2 separate regions of the Homo sapiens genome follow, and region 2 is linked to region 1. The links are contacts of gene promoters, found by promoter capture Hi-C in blood cells and fetal thymus (Javierre and others, 2016). All regions are on one chromosome and are shown on one strand. The core of a region is centred on a gene start or on the middle of the fragment in contact, and the rest is flanking DNA. Distances in the headings are between cores, read along the strand shown.

Region 1 (2,806 bases), core at 307-2,806:
TCAAAGGAGTATATTAAAATTTTAACGTAGGCCAGGCGCGGTGGCTCACGCCTGTAATCCCAGCACTTTTGGAGGCCTAGGCGGACGGATCACGAGGTCAAGAGACTGAGACCATCCTGGCCAACATGGTGAAACCCCGTCTCTACTAAAAATACAAAAATTAGCTGGGCGTGGTGGCGCGCGCCTGTAGTCCCAGCTACTCGGGAGGCTGAGGTAGGAGAATTGCTTGAACCTGGGAGGCGGAGATTGCAGTGACTGGAGATCGCGCCACTGTACTCCAGCCTGGCGACAGAGCGAGACTCCGTCTCAAAAAAAAAAGGTATCATCGCGGGCCTTTGTCCATTCAAGGCTCCAAAGTTTACAAACTCACTTTCATACAATTCACACCCTCTGCCTGAAATGCCCTCCTCTCTCTGGTGCCTGTTGAACTCCTACTCATCCACTCCAAGCTTGTTTTCACTAGGCGCCTCTACTCATAGACACAGTCGACCTATCAGCATTCTATTTCCTATCCCCATTAAGATCTCAGTCAATTTTTCACACAAAAAATCTTTCTTTAACTTACCAGTAATGCATACAGCTATCAGCTATGTCTTTGGTCTTTGGAGATATGACAATTGCTTTTTGTCTTTCTAAACATAAATTATGCTCAAACCAACAACAGTTTCAGGCGAACCAAAATACGTTTTTCAAGGTGGGTATGCATAAAGTGAATGCAAATTACCTCCCAACTATCTTGAGCCATTACAAGAGCAAAGATAAAAGTCATCCTAACAGGGAAAGGCCCTCTGACATCTCCCAAAAAACGAAAATAAAAGATTAAGAAAAAAGAAAAGAGAGGGAGGGCAAAGGTGACCAACAGCCCCATCGCTGATAAAGTTCCACGATTATCTCTCGAGCGTCCGTCGGCAGATATGGCTTTTCTCTTTTGGCAGAAGCCGTCGTTTTTAAATACGAGAGCCGACAGATGCGTCCGTACACAAACCTTGCAGCCACCAGCGCTGCGGACCGCGGAACCGGTCTCACAAGCAGGATGCTGACCAGCGTCCAGCCAGGGTCGTCCTCCTCCGCCCCCACCCCTGCAGCCCACAAGCCGGCCAGGAACGAGCGGCCCGGGAAAAGCCTAGTCCCCGGGGTCCTATCCCGATGAAAGATCTGCGGCGCCCTCGCTCCCCGGCTCGGCCCAGGCCGAAGGCCCCGCGGGGACCCCTCCAAGACGCCCTCGGCGCCGCAGCGGCCTCCCCGCCCCCGAGGCTGCCCGGGCCGCCGCAGGCCCCGCGGCCCCCGCCCGCCGCAACCGCGGCCCAGTTCCCCGCGCCCCCGCCGCCGCCTCAGCCCGAACCGGGCCCCCGCCGCCCCCGCTAGCTAGCCTCACCTCAGAAGCGAATCGTGGGCAGCGCGCGGGATTCCGGGGTCCCAGTGCGGCCACCGCCCGTCGGCTCCGGCTCCGGCTCCGCCCCCGTCCCCTGGCCCGCAGCAGCGGCCCGCCAGGCCTCTCCGCCCCTCAGCCCCTCCGCTCGCCCCCACCGCCCGACCTGGGTGCGGCCTGCGGCGCTGCAGCCCAACAACGCGCCGTCCCATAGGCCAAGCCGCGCAGCACTGCCGAGCAACGTACCCTGCGATTGGCGGGACCCATGAGGGGCGGGTCCCCTGCGGGCAGGGCGATTGGACTCGCCAGGCCCGCCTCGGGGCGACCCCGCCGGGGCCTGCGGAGGCCCAGGGTCCCGCGCGGAGTACACCCCGGCCGGCAGCTTCGGGCGCCAGGTCATGGCTTCACGGTGGCCAGGTAGACTGCGGCGAGCCCCTGCCGGGTCCGCTGGACACGGTTTCATTGTGATTGACCTCCGCCGGAGGGGCTGTCGGAGCCCAGGGACCCTGCCCTCCCGCCGCCGCCCAGCGCACTCCCCCAGCAGACGGGCCCTGCCCCGCGTAGCCCCGCCTTGTGCAGTCCCCAGGCCGAGTTTTGGGGCCCGGGTGGGGTCAAGGCAGCAGGGCCTGTGGGCCCCGATAAGGCTCCACAGAGGACAACTGCCTGGCCCCCGGGCCCGGCCTGCGGGTGCTGAGGAGACCAGCGAGCACCAGCCACCTCCGCACGACCAGGGAGTGAGCCTGCGGGGCTTTGGCAGGACCAGCCTCAGACCAGCACCTTCCCGCACACTGTCCCTCCTGCTGGCGCATCTGACACCCAAAAAAACAAGCAGCGAGACAAATGGGCACGGCTGCTTGTCCTCTTGACACCCATAGAAAGCTTAGGTCCAGAGCTGGGCAGTGGCAGAAGAGTGTGGAATCCAGACCTCCCTGCTCAGCAGGAGCCTCTGTGACATTGCCCCAACAAGGGTCAGGGATACTGTCTGGATGGAAGCCAGCGACCCCTGTTCTAACCATTTCTGTTGGACGTTGGCTTTTCCAAGACGATTTTTCTGACAAGATCACAATTCTGTCTCATTCACTTCTGCTTCCCATAGTTAATCACTAGGGAAACGCAAATCAAAACCACTGTGGGATACCACTTAACATTCATTAGGATGGCAGTTGAAGAAGCAGGGAGTTGGGCGCAGTGGCTTCAGCCTAAAATCCCAGCACTTAGGGAGGCAGAAACAGGAGGATAGCCTGAGCCCAGGAGTTGGCAGACTTGACTGGACAACATAAGGAGACCCTGTTCTCTACAAAAACGAGAAGAAAACAAAAAGTTTCAAGGGGGGAGAAGGAGGAAGAAGAGGAAAAAAAGAAAATAAGTGTTGGCAAAGATGCGGAGAAATTGGAACCCTTTGTGCATCGCTGACGGGAATGTAAAATGGTGTGGCTG
Region 2 (2,879 bases), core at 240-2,739, 350 kb after region 1:
CTCTATTAAAAATACAAAAAATTAGCCGGGTGTGGTGGCGGGTGCCTATAGTCCCAGCTACTTGGGAGGCTGAGGCAGGAGAATGGCGTGAACCCAGGATGTGGAGCTTGCAGTGAGCCGAGACTGCACCACTACACTCTAGCTTGGGCGACAGAGCAAGACTCTATCTCAAAAATAAATAAGTAAAAATAAAATGCCAGTTTGCAGGTATCCTAGTTATAAAAACAATATATGCAGAGCAAAGGGACTTAGGCCAGCCATCAACCACTTCTTGAGCAGGCAGAAGGGGAAATCCAATCTGGCCTCTGCCTATACCAAGCTCCAACACAGGGAGCTCTGTGGACAAGTTTGCCTTCTTGGGTGATTTCATGTCCTAATGAAAAACAGAAGAGGAAAGCGAAGTACTTTACAAGGTCCAGCAATTGGGGATGCAGTTTCAGATAGAAAAGGTGGGCTATCTCATTTGCGCTAGATTTTTTTTTAAATGGATCCTACCCCACTGCTGCACATTACCAGAGTTGAACAGTTAGCCCAGTTGAGAAGCTATTTCAGAATCTGTGAAGCTTTGAGTTGTACATGGTGAGTGTGAGACTGCATAGGCCTTCTAAAGACACTGAAAGCACCTTCTACTAGCTCACCCTGGTACAGTGTTCTCTCTCCACTTTAACACCCCACAGTTGTAGTGTCCCTGGCAATCTTACCAGTTTCCACGAGTTCTATGGGTTCTGCTTCCAAGGAGATCTCGGGGGTGGAGGTTGCTTCCCGAGTTCGCTTCTGAGCTTGTCTAGAATTTATTGCTCCACCACGACGCTTTCTCTGAGTAGCAAGGGGGAAAGAAGAGTCACATGAACACCAGAATGTCAGGGTTTCAGGAAGAACTAAATGGGCAATAGAAATGGTTCACTTCATTAAGAAGCCAGCGAGTAGACTTGAAGTTAGGGCTCCTTTCAAAACTTGAGATTCAAGAATACTGAATGCTTACGGAGAGAGAAACCATCCAAAACATAAAATGAGTAGAAATTCCAGAAAGTAAAACTTCTGTTTTATCAAACTATCAGCAGGTCGGCTGGGCATGGTGGCTCACACCTGTAATCCCAGCACTTTCGGAGGCTGAGGTGGGCGAATCATGAGGTGAGGAGTTCAAGGTCAGCCTGGCCAACATGGTGAAGCCTCATCACTACTGAAAATACAAAAGTTAGCTGGGCGTGGTGGCAGGCACCTGTAATCCCAGCTACTCCAGAGGCTGAGGCAGGAGAATCACTTGAACCTGGGAGGCAGAGGTTGCAGTGAGGCGAGATCGCGTCACTGTACTCTAGCCCGGGTGACAGTGTGAGACTCCATCTCAAAAAAACTATCAGCAGGTCAAAAGGGACACGATGCATCCCTTTACAAAAGCTTGAGGCCAAGTCAGGATTTGGACTTGGTAGTGGATGCCCTGGCCAAAAGGCTGGAAACTCTTCCCTTTAACCAAAAGTTATCAATTTCTCTTCCTTGACTTTGTGTTCAGCCTTTCTGAGCCCTTTTTGTTTCTTAGCATAAAGAACTTGGAGTTTTCTGAGTTTCTATACATTGTGGAAAGCTTATCTTCCCCTGGGAAATGTGGCCTTGAACCTTTCAGGGCACTATCAACTGTGATTCACACCAGACAATCACTCCCCACAAAGAACTCAAAGAACCAAAGCTGTTTTAAGCCTGTTCCCAGTGGCTACCCAAGAGCCATGTCTTCCGGAAAGTTCAGGCTCTCAGCTGGTTGATAAGCAACTGACACTCTGACCAGCCTTTCTTCCAAATCCTTAGGCTGCTGGTTTGCCAATATGCTCCAGCATTTCTGGTCTGCCTGGTCCCAAAAGACAAGCTGAGAATATCCTCCACCTTAATCAAGAGACAGAGCTGGCCAGGCGCAGTGGCTCAGGCCTGTAATCCCAGCACTTTGGGAGGCAGAGGCAGGCGGATCACCAGAGGTCAGGAGTTCAAGATCAGCCTGGGCAACACGGTGAAACCCGTCTCTACTAAAAATACAAAATTAGCTGGGCGTGGTGGCACATGCCTGTAATCCCAGCTACTCGGGAGGCTGAGGCAGGAGAATCACTTGAACCTGGGAGGTGGAGGATGCGGTGAGCCGAGATTGTGCCATTGCACTCCAGCCTGGGCAACAAGAGTAAATCTCCATCTCACCCCCCCCCAAAAAAAAAAGAGCTTCCCAACAGAGCCTGTCACCTTGTATTCCCACTGGTGTTTCCGTGCTCTTCTCCCTGTGCCCTGTCCTGCTATCCTTTGCACTGGACAACCTGGGACAAGTACTGCACTACTAAGTCTCAAGTTCCTCACCAGTACCAGCCTTGCAGAGCTGTTATAAGGTCTAAATGAGATCATGTATGTAAAGTACTGCGCAGAGACGGAAGATGCTACTACTATCCCAATTCCTTAGCCTTACTAGGGTCAATCTGTCCCAGGAAACTCTGAAAGGACCAGATATTGCAGGAGAGATTCATACAAGATCCAGGAACACCCACCATCCAGCCAAGCCCTCGCTAGGCAACAGGGATAAGCCTGATTCTGTGTTCCAATGCTACTCTTATCAAATGGCAGCTTGAGATGTTTTGGAAATGAAGCTGGGTCTAGTAACTTCCCACGGACTAAGGAGCACAGAACCAGCCCCAGGAGGGCCCAGAGGCCAAGCGACAGCAGCCAAAACTCCCAAGTGAGCAGCTGCTCTTGGCCTCAAGGGAGCTGACACTAACCTCAGTGGAGTTCTACTGCCCAGTGTTTTAAGGGTTTCCCCAGCAGCCACCAGGTTGCTTATGTAAAAAGTAAAGTAGAGGTTCCTCTTCAAAGACTTTCCTCCCCATCTAATTAGAAATAAATAGTAACTTCTCTTA

What was found. Contacts are between HindIII fragments. The CHiCAGO score rates a contact against its expected background, and 5 or more counts as called.
Region 2: a fragment that was not itself captured here is called in contact with the fragment with the promoter of ADD1 in region 1 in 1 of 17 cell types (total B cells); the score reaches 5.8 in total B cells.

Annotation. Positions count from the first base shown.
Region 1 is chr4:2,842,594-2,845,399 of GRCh38, reverse strand. It overlaps ADD1 (adducin 1), which reads right to left and starts at 1,556. Exons shown (of 16, transcript NM_001354761.2): 1 at 1,376-1,556. RefSeq lists silencers at 1,095-1,244, 1,365-1,554, 1,615-1,994, 2,095-2,144 and an enhancer at 2,273-2,784. The HindIII fragment of the contact is 1,799 bases long and covers 452-2,250 here.
Region 2 is chr4:2,494,944-2,497,822 of GRCh38, reverse strand. It overlaps RNF4 (ring finger protein 4), which reads right to left. Exons shown (of 8, transcript NM_002938.5): 3 at 702-816. Among named protein-coding and RNA genes, the nearest start is that of RNF4, 27 kb to the right of the region's middle. The HindIII fragment of the contact is 184 bases long and covers 1,398-1,581 here.